Linked DNA regions of Homo sapiens: all the other regions are linked to region 3. The links are contacts of gene promoters, found by promoter capture Hi-C in blood cells and fetal thymus (Javierre and others, 2016). All regions are on one chromosome and are shown on one strand. Each heading gives the region's core, a stretch centred on a gene start or on the middle of the fragment in contact. The rest is flanking DNA. Distances are from core to core; before and after follow the strand shown. Region 1 overlaps MGRN1 (mahogunin ring finger 1). Region 2 overlaps GLYR1 (glyoxylate reductase 1 homolog). Region 3 holds the start of ZNF500 (zinc finger protein 500). Region 4 overlaps MGRN1 (mahogunin ring finger 1). Region 5 overlaps UBN1 (ubinuclein 1).

The links. The method cuts DNA at HindIII sites, captures the fragments that hold promoters and counts their contacts. A CHiCAGO score of 5 or more calls a contact.
Region 1: a contact is called between a fragment that was not itself captured here and the fragment with the promoter of ZNF500 in region 3, in 1 of 17 cell types (neutrophils). The highest score is 5.3, in neutrophils.
Region 2: a contact is called between a fragment that was not itself captured here and the fragment with the promoter of ZNF500 in region 3, in 7 of 17 cell types (erythroblasts, megakaryocytes, monocytes and 4 more). The highest score is 12.8, in erythroblasts.
Region 4: a fragment that was not itself captured here is called in contact with the fragment with the promoter of ZNF500 in region 3 in 2 of 17 cell types (erythroblasts and neutrophils); the score reaches 5.2 in erythroblasts.
Region 5: a contact is called between a fragment that was not itself captured here and the fragment with the promoter of ZNF500 in region 3, in 1 of 17 cell types (erythroblasts). The highest score is 5.6, in erythroblasts.

The regions. Positions count from the first base shown.
Region 1 is chr16:4,680,009-4,682,708 of GRCh38, forward strand. MGRN1 (mahogunin ring finger 1) reads left to right here. Exons shown (of 17, transcript NM_015246.4): 12 at 24-89; 13 at 1,542-1,768. Among named protein-coding and RNA genes, the nearest start is that of MIR6769A, 10 kb to the left of the region's middle. The HindIII fragment of the contact is 3,050 bases long and covers 1-2,700 here.
Region 2 is chr16:4,833,082-4,835,781 of GRCh38, forward strand. All of the region lies in intron 3 of GLYR1 (glyoxylate reductase 1 homolog), which reads right to left. Among named protein-coding and RNA genes, the nearest start is that of GLYR1, 13 kb to the right of the region's middle. The HindIII fragment of the contact is 1,030 bases long and covers 918-1,947 here.
Region 3 is chr16:4,765,912-4,768,611 of GRCh38, forward strand. ZNF500 (zinc finger protein 500) reads right to left here and starts at 1,251. Exons shown (of 6, transcript NM_021646.4): 1 at 1,106-1,251; 2 at 1-165. The coding sequence starts at 67. RefSeq lists a silencer at 998-1,297 and an enhancer at 2,490-2,569. The HindIII fragment of the contact is 2,671 bases long and covers 1,064-2,700 here.
Region 4 is chr16:4,641,764-4,644,463 of GRCh38, forward strand. The region is part of intron 1 of MGRN1 (mahogunin ring finger 1); the gene reads left to right. Among named protein-coding and RNA genes, the nearest start is that of MGRN1, 18 kb to the left of the region's middle. The HindIII fragment of the contact is 4,575 bases long and covers 1-2,700 here.
Region 5 is chr16:4,871,446-4,874,145 of GRCh38, forward strand. It overlaps UBN1 (ubinuclein 1), which reads left to right. Exons shown (of 18, transcript NM_001079514.3): 13 at 1,439-1,489; 14 at 1,586-1,628. Among named protein-coding and RNA genes, the nearest start is that of UBN1, 25 kb to the left of the region's middle. The HindIII fragment of the contact is 5,729 bases long and covers 1-2,700 here.

The DNA.
Region 1 (2,700 bases), core at 182-2,681, 86 kb before region 3:
ACATATGATTTTTATCTTGACAGTGTCCCTTTAAAAAATCAAAGCCGCACCCCGCCTCCCTGGCCAGCAAGAAACCTAAAAGGGAAACAGTAAGTGTCTGGTCCTCCGGCTACGTTTTTTTGCCCCCGCCCTCATTTTTAAACCCACGACAAGTAGGGGAGATCGTTTCCGCCCCAGGCTAGTGTCTGATTCATATAACCCGTCAGCTCCACTTGCCCAGTCCCGGCCTCCCTGCCCAGGGAGTTTGTGGAACCGGAAAAGCTCTCGGTCCGTGGGCGAAACGCCAGGTGCGCTGGCCCCGCCGCCCTCCCCTCAGCTTTGCCTCCGCCCCGCGTGGCCCCCGTGCCGTTTCCCTTTTTTTTCTTGCTGGCAGTGGAATGGACGTTGCAGGCGGAACTAACGTCGCTGCTGCGTTTTGCAATCGCGCCCCGCGCATGCTTCTTGGCCCCGTGTCCCGCTCCTTTACCCTGCGGGTTCGAGCTCCTTGGGCTGAGCTTTTTGGTTTCCTTGGGCTTCCCTTGTGCCCCAGGGAGCAGGCAGGGGGACCAGCACACAACCACCTGGAGCCTCCGTGGCCCAGGCAGACCCAGCCGAAACCCTGTGTGCGTTGGTGTAGAAGGTGGAGGCCACTCCGGAGCCACCCGGACCGTGTTTTCCTTTCTAGAGGGGTGAGGGGATTCTGTGTGGTTATTTACCCTTAACTTGGAGGCAGGTATGGGAGCAAATGTGGGGTACACAGAGGTCCAGAAAAGCATCCCGGGCTCATTGCCCGGGCCGTGCCCGCTCCCCCATTTCTCCCCCACCTCCCCGTGGTCTCCAGGCATCCCGCACCCATCTCACTTTCCCCTTCCTTCCAGGAGCTCGGTCAGGCAGGCCGGGGTCTCCCGAAAGGAGCACTGACGAGCGTTGTGCCCCTCAACCTGGTTTTGTGGGGACAGAGCAGGGGCCCCCGCAGTCTGACTTCCGTTCCCCAGAACCTGGGCATTTTCCTTCTTCCTCAGCCTTGTTGATTCTGTCTGCTCCCAGTGAGGGAAGAACAGTGGCTCTTAGCCAGGGTGCCCGTTAGAACCACCTGGAGCAGGTCAGCCCCCAGAGGCCCGGGCAGGGCACAGCTCCCAACAGCTCAGCTCTCCCTGGTCCAGGACGCCCCTGACCGTGTCTCTCGCCTCTGGCATGGCTTTGCTCTGCCCCCGCTCCCAGCTCCTGTCTGTCACTAACCCTTCACTCTCCACCTGGGGCCAGGCGGGACTGAAAGCCAGGGAGGGGCTGGTTGAGGCCAGGGCTGGGGCGGTTCTTGGCAGATGCCCTCGTGCCCGTCATCCCAGGCACCAGCGTGGGCATTTGGGCATCCAGCCCCGTGCTGGAGCTGATGGCTGAGGCAGGGAGGGCATCGGTGCTGCCAGGGAGCTCTTGGCCACCCTCTGAGGGTGGGGGAGTCTCAATCCCCCAAAGAACAGAGTGGACAGGAGGTCATCAGGAGGAGCGTCTGGGGAGCAGGTGGTCCCTGGGCATGAGCCCCCTCACGCACCCTGTCCCTACAGAACTCTGACAGCGTCCCACCTGGCTACGAGCCCATCTCGCTGCTCGAGGCGCTCAACGGCCTCCGGGCTGTCTCCCCGGCCATCCCCTCGGCCCCTCTTTATGAAGAAATCACCTATTCAGGCATCTCGGACGGCCTGTCCCAGGCCAGCTGTCCCCTCGCGGCTATCGACCACATCCTGGACAGCAGCCGCCAGAAGGGCAGGCCGCAGAGCAAGGCCCCCGACAGGTGAGCAGCAGCCAGGCCAGGTGCATGGCAGGGTGTGTGGTGGCGCGCGTGCGGAGCGGGTGTCTTTGTGGTTTCAAATCAGTTTGTGATGTGTTCTGTGTGGCGATTCCCCAGAAGGACTCGGAGACCCCGTATCAGGTTAGACTCATGGGTAAAGTTTATTACGGCAAAGAACGCAGCAGACGAGGCAGGAAGAGCGTCCGGGCAGCTGGAGGCTTTGATCCCCCGACCAGGGCCACACCGGCGTGCAGGCGCATACGTGCTCTCGAGCAGGAAACTGCAGGGGTCGGTGCTGTGTCTCTGCTGAGGGGAGCCCCTTTGAGCCTCTGGGTTCCCAGACTTCATTGGGGGGCTGGCCACGTAGGCCCACTCTGCCGGTGACCAGCCAGGGCAGCCGAAACTCAGGACCTGACAGTGACCCAGGCACACTCACTGCTCTTGCCGTTCGCCCGTGACGAGCCACGGGGCACGGTCCCTCTCCAGGCGATGAGTGCATCATCCATCACTCATACGACAGCCTTCGGAGGGCCTGGCTCCTGGGGTTGGCCACGGGTCATTCGTGGTTCCCCTGGAGCCTTGCGGTGTATAGAGCGGCGGCTGCCAGGGGGACTCTGTGCCTCAGGCCTGTCGGTTCTCGTAGAAGAGTGTCAGGAAGGCGCGGGTTCTGCAGGCCCGCCCTGGGCACCCTCCATGCCCACGAGGAGGCAGCGCCAAAGCTCAGAGAAACGGGGGCCTCTGTCTCCTGCTGCTTCTCCTCCCCAGGAACCACCAGCGGTTTCTCTTCTCCTTCTAGAAAGAAAAGGAAGGCTAGGCCCGTGCCAGTGTGTCGGGAGCCCCTCTGTCGGGCGGGTCTGTGGTGGCCGCTGTTGCCTGTTGGCCGTTTGGGTTGGTCCCGGTGGCTGGTGATGCCCTTCTCCAGGGAGTGTCCTTGC
Region 2 (2,700 bases), core at 183-2,682, 67 kb after region 3:
TAAAGTATATTTTCTTGAAACAAGTCAAGCAGAACAACCATCACCACCACTGCAGCAACCACAAATCAAGTTCCTCCAGTGAAAGCACTGTGTTGCAGATTATTTATTTCCACAATCGTCTATCAGCCTCCAATGCCCAACCACATATACGCTGCCACTTGCTCAGGGCAGAAAGAAATCTGGAGACCCTTTCCCATTCTCACCAGGCAGCACAAATGGCCACACACAGATCCCTGGGAATCAGGGTACCTGGAAATGTGATAGATGATAGCAGCATTACTATGCAGGAAAATGCCTGCTGCCTGTCAACAATGGGAACCAGATTTATGATCTGTTGATCCACAGAGAGTCAGGGATGTTACAGAGCTGAAGAAATGCAACATCTTCTAAAATTTGTGGTTCCTATGGATATTCACAGCCACTGAGCCTATATTTGTTCATAAATGATGGTAACCATGGCTACTAAACCACACAAAACACGGAACACATGGTTTGGAATAAGGGCAGCAGTTACAAAAGGAGGCATTTAAAAACAAGATGGCATGCTGTTTTATGATGTCTCAAAAAAAAAAAAAAATAGAAACAAGATGCTTGAGATTAAAGGTAGAAGAACATACACCTCCGATATGTAATTTTTAATTTCAACCATCAATGTGTAACACATGAAAGTGAAAGTAGTCAGCTGTCAATTCTGGGGTTTCTGATCTGTCACACTAACCTGAACAAATCTGCTGCAGCTGGCTTTCTATGGCTTCCCTGAATGGCATGCAGCTTATAGAATCCAAGCACAAAATAATTTTATAGGCTTTACAAGGTATCAGTTAGTTTACATGTTTTAGCCTGTGATACAGGTTTCACAGCATAACCTTCAGAAAAAGTAGGTCAGGTTAAGGATACAGAAACCCAGCTATCTCACAAGCTTCAGGTTGTTTTCTTCATAGAAAGCTAGAGAATATTCACTAACAGCAAGTGTTAACCTTTGCACATAAAAATAATGTTACTAACCCTCCACCAGCTACCTGGACTTTGAGTGTGCTGCTGGTAGTTGTGATAATGGGGTCTGTGCAAAAACACAGACCTGGGATCATCGGCCTGCAGATGTCAGGCAGCGAACCACTATCAGGCATGCCACCATGGCTAAGTGAGATGATGAATGGAGATACAGAAGCTGGTCTCCCTGGCACAGCTCCAACTAGAGGAGTTAGGCAAATTCCTTTTTTTTTTTTTTTTTTTTTTGAGACGGAGTTTCACTCTTGTTGCCCAGGCTGGAGTGCAATGGGGCGATGTTGGCTCACGGCAACCTCGCCTCCTAGGTTCAAGTGATTCTCCTGCCTCAGCCTCCCAAGTGCTGGGATTACAGGCGTGAGCCACCACACCTGGCCTTTTTTTTTTCCTTTTTGAGACAGAGTCTCATTTTGTCACCTAGGATGAAGTGCAGTGGCACGATCTTAGCTAACTGCGACCTCCGCCTCCACCTCCCAGGTTCAAGCAATTCTGCCTCTATCTCCCGAGTTGCTGGGACTACAGGTATGCACCACCACACCCAGCTAATTTTTATGTTTCTAGTAGAGACGGGGTTTCCCTGTGTTGGCCAGGCTGGTCTTGAACTTCTGGCCTCCAGTGATCCACCTGCCTTGGCCTCCCAAAGTGCTGGGATTACAGGTGTGAGCCAGCAAACTCCTTTCCAGTGACCAACTCATCTTAAAGTTTGAAATTCAACATGAGAGCGCCAATGAGTCCAATCTGCTGGGAGGAAAAGTGGAAGGAGATTTCGACCCCAGATTTTCTGGCAAGAATATCCCTGAACTGACTCCGTTCCCTCTCCTTACAGGGATGCTAATGACAGGCCAGAGCAATCAGATGCAAAGTCAGACCCAGCCCCAAAAGCCAGTGAAGCTACCATACTAACCCGTGGGTCTGAGATGACACAACCAGTATCAAGGATGAAGCTTAAGGAGTCGTGACCAGCCAGTTCTTCCTAGGAGCTTCTGGTCAGAAGCTGAGAACCACACAAGTTCCCAATATAGGACCAAAAAGGTGATTTTTATGGAACCCCTTGAGATGGGACAACAGACTCCGAGACTTGCTAATCCCACCCACGCCATCCTGCTACCTCCATCCCTGCCTCCCACTACCCAGCCTCACAGGAACCCGATTCTGAGGGAACAGAAAGGTGAGGATGTCTGTGAAGTGCCAAGGAATCAACCCCATTTTTTGTTGAAGCATCTTACAAGGTTTACTGATTTCTGCTAGAAGGAACTGTACAGTCAAAATTCCACTCACTTTAAAGCATTTGAGATACTAAAATTTTCCTCTTTACAACCATCTTCGAAACATTAAAATGGCTAAATGAACTGACAGTATGAATAGGATGGTAAATCCAAGAAATGTTAATCTATTTAAGGAATCAACTTATTGCTGGAGAAGCATCCTGTTACATCAAAAAACAGCCATAAAAAACCAGCTTGGCTGGGCACGGTGGCTCACACCTGTAATCCTAGCACTTTGGGAGGCCGAGGCAGGCAGATCACCTGAGGTTAGGAGTTTGAGACCAGCCTGGCCAACATGGTGAAATCTCGTCTCTACTGAAAATATAAAAATTAGCTGGGTGTAGTGGCACGCAGCTGTAATCCCAGCTACTCGGAAGGCTGAGACAGGAGAAACACTTGAACCCAGGAGGCGGAGGTTGCAGTGAGCCAG
Region 3 (2,700 bases), core at 1-2,500:
GGATCTCTTCCTGTTCCAGGTCCTGCTCCAAGGTTGGCAGGGGCTGGAGGCCAGGGACAGTGGCCATTGCTTCCGGTGGGCCTTGTTCCTTTTCAGGCCTTAGAGTTGAACCTGTCTCTCTCTATACCTCTGGCCAGACACAGGAAGAGAGTTTTTTTCAGGGCCCTGTGGAGAGACGATAAAACCATCTGAAGGGCAGCCCTGGGGCTGGATAAGCCCTTTGGCCTGGGAAGCCCCTGCCCTGGTTCCAAGGCCAGCTCACCCCACCATGGAAAAGGAAAAGGAAGTGGATGAATGTCATCTTTGTTATTAACCCCCTGTTAATTCCCGGGTAATTTACTGAAGGGCTCTGGGCTTTGCTTCCTCACTGGGCAAACAGAGATGATAACAGGACCTACACACACAGGTTGCTGACAGAACTAAAAGGGATGGCTGGGGGCAGTAGCTGACGCCTGTAATCCCCGCACTTTGGGAGGCAGAGGAGGGCAGATCACGTGAGTTCAGGAGTTGACCACCTGGTCAACGTGGTGGAACCCTGTCTCTACAAAAAATACAAAAATTAGCCCGACATGGTGGTAGCACATCTGTAATCCCAGCAACTCGGGAGGCTGAGACAGGAGAATCGCTTGAACCCGGGAGATGGAGGTTGCAGTGAACTGAGATAGCGCCACTGCACTCCAGCCTGGGCGACAGAGAGAGACTCAAACAAAAACAATCTAAAAGGGATGTTTGCGGTCAGAGCTCGAGAATCGTTATTTTCCATGATTAGAGTGGGTCCTATATGGAAGGGGTTCCTTTGGAAATCTGATGAAAAGTAGGGCCTTTCTGCAGACTCTGCCTCAACTTGATCCCCGGTGTCCAGGTCTGGCGAACCCTGAAGCCCCTACGCGGCCCCGTCAGGCACCCCCGCGTGGGTGGTCACGACAGCCCCCCAATTCCAGGGTCCTGGGAGAGCTGGGACCCCCAGGCCGGGCTGCTTTCCCGTCTCATCCCTCAGGTGGAGGGTGAGCGGTACCCGAGGCCGCGGCACAGACCCGGGTGCTGGCGCGGGCCGCGAAATCGAAGCTTCGGCCGGGACCCGCGTCCCCGCGCCCCCCGCACTCACTGGAAGCGCTGCCGGCCGTGGGCAGTTCGGGGCAGGACCGGAGCGGCGGGTCTCGGCGGGAGTAGGACTGCGGGCCTCAGGCTTGGCAGCCAGGGACGCCAGAGCCGGGGCCGAAGACCCTAAACCAGGGGTGCAAACCAGGCCGTGCGGGTGGGCCCGCAGGCGGCATTGTGGGTAACGTAGCCGTGGCACCATTGGCTAAGCCGGCCGTTGGGGGCGTGGCAACACGGCCGAGTGGGCGGGTCCGCGACGTGCACTGTGGTTAATGTGGTCCTCAAAGGCACGCATTGTGGGTAACGTAGTCCAGCACCTCGGTGACCGCGCGAGCGTGCGGCGACTCTGCAGCCTCTGGGCTACTTTCCCAGTCACTGTTCCACACCCGCTCCGCTCTCCTCTGGCCGCCTCCTCCATCTTTAAAGCCAGCAAAGTCGTCCGGGCACGGTGGCTCACACCTGTAATCCTAGCACTTTGGGAGGCCGACGCGGGCGGATCACCTGAGGTCGGGAGTTCGAGACCAGCCTGACTAACGTGGAGAAACCTGGGCGTGGTGGTTCATGCCTGTAATCCTAGCTACTCAGGAGGCTAAGGCGCAGGTTGCAGTGAGCCGACATCCTGCCATTGTCCTCCAGCCTGGGCAACAAGAGCGAAACTCCATCTCAAAAAATAAATAAATAAATAATAAATAAATAAAATAAATAAAGGCAGAAGTTGTTCAAGATAAAACTGGAAGAGATGCCAAGTGCTTGCGCCCACCCTCCCCCAAGAGGGCCCCCAACAACGTCCAACCCCAAATATCCCTTGTCCTGCCTGCTTCTTTCTGACAACATAATAATGGGCATCAATCTTTGTTGTTGTTGTTAGAGATGAAGTCCCACCATGGTGCCTAGGCTGGTCTCAAACTCCTGGGCCCAAGCAATCTTCCCGCCTCAGCTTCCCAAAGTGTCAGGATTACAGGTGTGCCCAGCCAGGTATCAATTCTTGTATGTATGTATTTATTTATTTAGAGACAGGGTCTCACTCTGTCGCCCAGGCTAGAGTGCAGTGGCTCGACCTTGGCTCACAGCAACCTCCGCCGCCCGGTTTTAAGCAATTCTCCTACCTAACCTCCCGAATAGTTGGGATTACAGGCACGAACCACCAGGTCCGGCTAATTTTTGTATTTTTAGTAGAGATGGGGTTTCCCCATGTTGCCCAGGCTGGTCTCCAACGGCCTCAAGCAATCCACCCACGTCAGCCTCCCAAAGTGCTGAGATTACAGGAGTAAGCCACCGCTCCCGGTCGCATCAATTCTTGAGCATCAAGCAAGCAAAACACATTTGTACTTCGTTTCTTCCTCATTTAGTAATAGAGGTACTATAACTAGACCTACCGGTTCAACAAAACAAAACAAAACCCTGAAGCTCTGAGAGTTTTAAGTATTGAACCCCCCAGAGAAGGTCAAACAGGAAGTACAGAAATGGGATTGGAACCCAAATCTTTGATTCCAGAACTTCAGCTCCTAACTACCAGGTTAACGTAGTTTGCCCCTAATCCTAACTTGGGCATCCTAAGGCCCGTCTCCTATGCTGGATTCTCGCTGCTTTTCCTCTTTGGTT
Region 4 (2,700 bases), core at 185-2,684, 120 kb before region 3:
CTGCCTCGGCCTCCCAAAGTGCTGGGATTACAGATGTGAGCCACTGCGCCTGGCCACTTTTTGTATTTTTTGTAGAGACAGGGTCTCGCCATGTCGCCCAGGCTGGTCTGAAATTCGTGGCTTCAAGCCATCTTGCCCACCTTGGCCTCCTAAAGTGCTGGGATTATAGGCGTGAGCCCCCTCGGCTGGCCTGGATTCTCTGTGAGGTGTTTCCAGTTCTTCCCAGTTGGTCTCGTCTCCTGCAGGTGTGAGTTGTTGATTGTCTGCGCCGTGTTGATCACGTAGACCCTGTTCTTGAGTGCTGAGGGTCCATCCGGTAACCCTGCACTGTCATGCATTTCCCTGTCAGCATATGACTTGGTTCCTTTTTTTTTTTTTTTTTTAAAAAAGACCGTCTTGCTCTTTCGCCCAGGCTGGAGTGCAGTGGCGCGATTTCAGCTCGCTGCAACCTCTGCCTCTTGGGTTCGAGAGATTCTCCTGTCTCAGCCTCCCGAGTAGTGGGGATTACAGGCATGAGCTAATTTTTGTATTTTTATTTATTTATTTATTTTTGAAACGGAGTCGTCTTCTGTCACCCAGGCTGGAGTTCAATGGTGTGATCTCCGCTCACGGTAACCTTCGTCTCCTGAGTTCAAGCGATTCTCCTGCCTCAGCCTTCTGAGTAGCTGGGATTACAGGCATGCACCACCACGGCCAGCTAATTTGTGTGTGTGTGTGTGTGTGTGTGTGTGTGTGTGTTTTTAGTAGAGATGGGGGTTTCACCTTGTTGCCAGACTGGTCTTAAACTCCTGACCTTGTGATCCGCCCGCCTCGGCCTCCCAAAGTGCTGGGATTACAGGCGTGAGCCACCGCACCCGGCCCTAATTTTTGTATTTTTAGTAGAAACAGACTTTCCCATGTTGGCCAGGCTGGTCTTCAACTCCTGACGGCAGACCTCAAGTGATTTGCCTGCCCTGGCCTCCCAAAGTGCTGGGATTACAGGGGTGAGCACCGTGCCTGGTGGGTTATAATTTTTAACGCTTGAATTTTTTTTTTTTTTTTGTTAAAGGGTCTGGCTCTGTTGCCTAGGCTATAATGCAGTGGCTTGATCAGGGTTCACTGCAGCCTTGACCTCCCAGGCTCAAGTGATCCTTCCACCTCAGCCTCCCGAGTACCTTGGACTGCAAGTACGCATCACCGTGCTAGCTAATTTTTTTTGTTTTGTTTTGTTTTGAGACAGTCCCACTCTGTCACCCAGGCTAGAGTGAAGTGGCACAATCTCAGCTCACTGCAGCCTCTGCCTCCCAAGTTCAAGCGATTCTCGTGCCTCAGCCTCCTAAGTAGCTGGGACTATAGGCACACACCACCATGCCTGGCTAATTTTTGTATTTTTAGTAGAGATGGGATTTCGCCATGTTGGCCAGGCTGGTCTCAATCTCGATCTCCTGACCTTGTGATCCACTCCTCTCGGCCTCCCAGAGCACTGGGATTATAGGCACGAGCCACTGAGCCTGGACTAATTTTTGTATTTTTGGCAGAGATGGGGTTTTGCCATGTTGTCCAGGCAGGTCTCGAACTGCTGGGCTCAAGTGAACCTCCCACCTTGGCCTCCCAAAGTGGTAGGATTACAGGCGTGAGCTACTGTACCCGGCCTTGCTTGATTTTTTTTTTTTTTTTTTTTTCTGAGACAGAGTCTCCCTCACTGCAACCTCCGCTTCCTGGGTTCAAGGAATTCTCCTGCCTCAGCCCCTCCCAAGTACCTGGGACTACAGGCGCGTGCCACCACACCTGGCTAATTTTTTGTATTTTTTAGTAGAGACGGGGTTTCACCGTGTTAGCCAGGATGGTCTCCATCTCCTGACCTCGTGATCCACCTGCCTTGGCCTCCCAAAGTGCTGGGATTACACGCGTGAGTCACCGCGCCTGGCAAAAATCTTGTATTGATCATATTGTGTGTCTGCAACCAAAATATGCGCACCAATTGAAATTAGAATTTTAAATAATTTTACATCATAAGCTGTGAGTTTTTCGTGTTTTGAATGGCCATTACTAATACCCAATTGATCAAACAAATATTCCAGTTTTTATCAATAACAAGAAGAAATACGAAAAAACATTGGAAATATGTCTCTTGAGTAGATGGGTTCCTTTTTCTCCTGGTTAATTCATGCATTCACAGTTGGATACAAGCTGTTGCTAAAATGATTTCAGCCTCAATGCTAGTTTTTTTTGTTTGTTTGTTTTTTTTGAGATGGAGTCTCGCTCTGTTGCCCAGGCTGGAGTGGAGTGAGGTGGTGCAATCTCGGCTCCCTGCAACCTCTGCCTCCCAGATGCAAGCAATTCTGCTGTCTTGGCCTCCTGAGTAGTTGGGATTACAGGCATGTACTACCACTCCCGGCTAATTTTTTTTTGTTTTGTTTTGTATTTTTAGTAGAGATGGGGTTTTACCATGTTGGCCAGGCTGGTCTAGAACTCCTTACCTCAAGTGATCCACCCCCCTCAGCCTCCCAAAGTGCTGGGTTTACAGGTGTTAGCCACCGTGCTTGGACCCCTCAATTACCAGTTTTTTTTTTTTTTTTTTTTTGATGGAGTTTCACTCTTGTTGTCCAGGCTGGAGTGGACAGCTGGCCCAATCTCAGCTCACGGCAACCTCTGCCTCCCAGGTTCAAGCGATTTTCCTGCCTCAGCCTCCCAAGTAGCTGGGATTACAGGCACACACCA
Region 5 (2,700 bases), core at 76-2,575, 110 kb after region 3:
ATGCAGGTAGCTGGGAAAGGGTCTTCTGGATCTTCCCTGGAGGAAGGGAAGTTGCCTCCAGGGTTTTGTTTTTGTCATTTTTTGTCCCACTTCAGTTGATGTTTGGCCTCCCATCTCAATATGCACTTTCCTTTTTTTTTTTTTTTTTTTTTTTTTTTTGAGATGGAGTCTCGCTCTGTTGCCTGGGCTGGAGTGCAGTGGTATGATCTCAGCTCACTGCAAGCTCCACCTCCCAGGTTCACGCCGTTCTCCTGCCTCAACCTCCCGAGTAGCTGGGACTACAGGTGCCTGCCACCATGCCCGGCTAATTTTTTGTATTTTTAGTAGAAATGGGGTTTCACCGTGTTAGCCAGGATGGTCTCAATCTCCTGACCTTGTGATCTGCCCACCTTGGCCTCCCTAAGTGCTGGGATTACAGGCGTGAGCCACCACACCCGGCCACACTTCCTGTTTTAACATACAGGCTGCTATGAGCATTTGAGAGATGGGTTCATCTTGGGTCTTTCCTGATGTTCCTGAAGAAGTGTCATTTGCAGGTAGCAGGGCTGACTCCTTATTGGAACTAAGTGCCAGGCTTCCATCTCAGAGGCTACCTTGTACGAAGTCACTTCCTGCGAATGAAGTATTTGTGTCATACATGGGACAGAGAAAGTTAGCTGGAGTGATTTTCTTGATTGGACTCGAATCATCTGTTGTGCGGATAGATCTTGGAACCTTTGAAATTGCTGTCCTCTCTACGTAGGCTGGACTCATACGAAGAACGTTTTTGTTGAGTTTCTCTGGACAAAGACATGCTGGGTCACTCCACATTTTATTCCTGGAATGGAGGGACTAGGCAATAAGGAAAGTGCTGTGCCCTTTAGGGAAGCATCACCATGAGAGGTTTGAGGCAGAGCCATACATTTTCTTGGTAAAGGCCAGACTCAGCCTTTGGGCAGCCAGTGTGTCCCATTGAGATCCTCTCACCAGGAATTTGGCTCCCCAATCCATTGACCTTTTTTTTTGTGTGTGTGGGGGGTGGGTGGGCATGGTGGGGGGGCGGGGACAAAGTCTCACTCTGTTGCCCAGACTGGAGTGCAATGGCACGATCTCGGCTCACTGCAACCTCCGCCTCCCCGGTTTGAGCGAATCTCCTGCCTCAGCCTCCCGAGTAGCTGGGATTACAGGCGTGCGCCACCACGCCTGGCTAATTTTAGTATTTTTAGTAGAGACGGGGTTTCACCATGTTGGCCAGGCTGGTCTCGAACTCCTGACCTCAGGTGATCCACCTGCCTTGGCCTCCAAAAGTGCTGGGATTACAGGCGTGAGCCACTGCGCCTGGCCAGTTGACATTTAATGAGGGATAGCTACTGAGGACCAGGGACACTAGCAAAGTTCTGGAAGCAGAGTCCCAGCTTTCTGGGGCATGTACAGATGCCTGGTGTTCTGTGTCTTTCAGAACTCTGTTTAAGGAGAGCAGACGAGGCCATGGGCACCTGACTTCAATCCTGTGAGTGTCTTGGTATTTTCACATCTCGGGACAAGTGTTGTTTTTGGTCTCCTCTGGATATTCTCTAAACTTTTCTGTGCTCATTCCTTTGAACAGGGCCAAGAAGAAAGTTATGGCCCCTTCTAAAATCAAGGTGAAGGTGAGTCAGTTTGCTCGGGTCACATGTCAGCTATGCCCATCTCCCTACAACTATGCTCTGGAAACAGTCAAGTGACTGTGGAAGCTCATTGATCTTTGCTCGTCTGGGGACAGCTGCTCAGGATGACATTCTTGAAGTCATAACAGGACAGAGACCCAAGCCACTTAACCCCCCTCTAGCCTTGGTTCTACAAACAGTACCCAGCTGGCCCAGTTCCTGGGGTTCATGTGGGATTAAGTGGGATCTTCTTGGCAGCCCTCTGAGGAGTCAGTAGTCCCTGAAGGTGTGAACGTGTTACACTGTGATCTTTGTATGGAAGAAATACACTCTAGCCAAGTGCAGTTTAGCTTGGAGCCACAGCAGAAAGAAAAGGCGACTTTACTGAGCTACCAGGCAGAAATGGAGGGCAATATAGTGGCTGGAGAATAGACACTGTGAAAATTACCTTAGATGTTGCAGAAACCTCTCAATGTAGTAAAAATTGCTGTTTATCAACATTTTTCCCAGTTCTTAGTGTGGTGCCCTTAGCCATCCCTAAGCAGACCGTGAGAATGAGATGTGCAAATCATTTACTCCTAAGTATCTGTTGAGCTCCCACAATGTCCCAGACACACTGTATTAAGCACCAGGGATGCAGGAGTGAAGGATTAGACCCCATTCCTGTTCCCATGAAAAGCTCACTCTTCTTTGAACCCAGTCTGAGGAGATGGGTGCTGGGAAAAATCAAGAAGGGAAAAATAGCTGCTTTAAGGCAATTCTCATGCCATGCCTTGGTCTGATTGCAGCTAGGAGTGCGCTGAGACAGTGGGAATGCCAGTAGGCAGAGTATCTCTTCACGAGAGTCTTAACGCTTTTCAAAACAGAAGAAAGTTTCTCCTGGCGGCTTGTTTGTACTTAGCAACGAAGCATGCCGGGGTAAACCCAGCCCTGGCCAACCAGATACTCACCAGGGGTGATGAAGTCATGGCATCTAAAGTCAAGGCGGGCACAGCTCCTGCTCTGTCCCACCACTTGTCTTGTAATTATACAGGAAGGCCCAGTTTTTTTGACTCGAGTTCACATGTTTGTATCC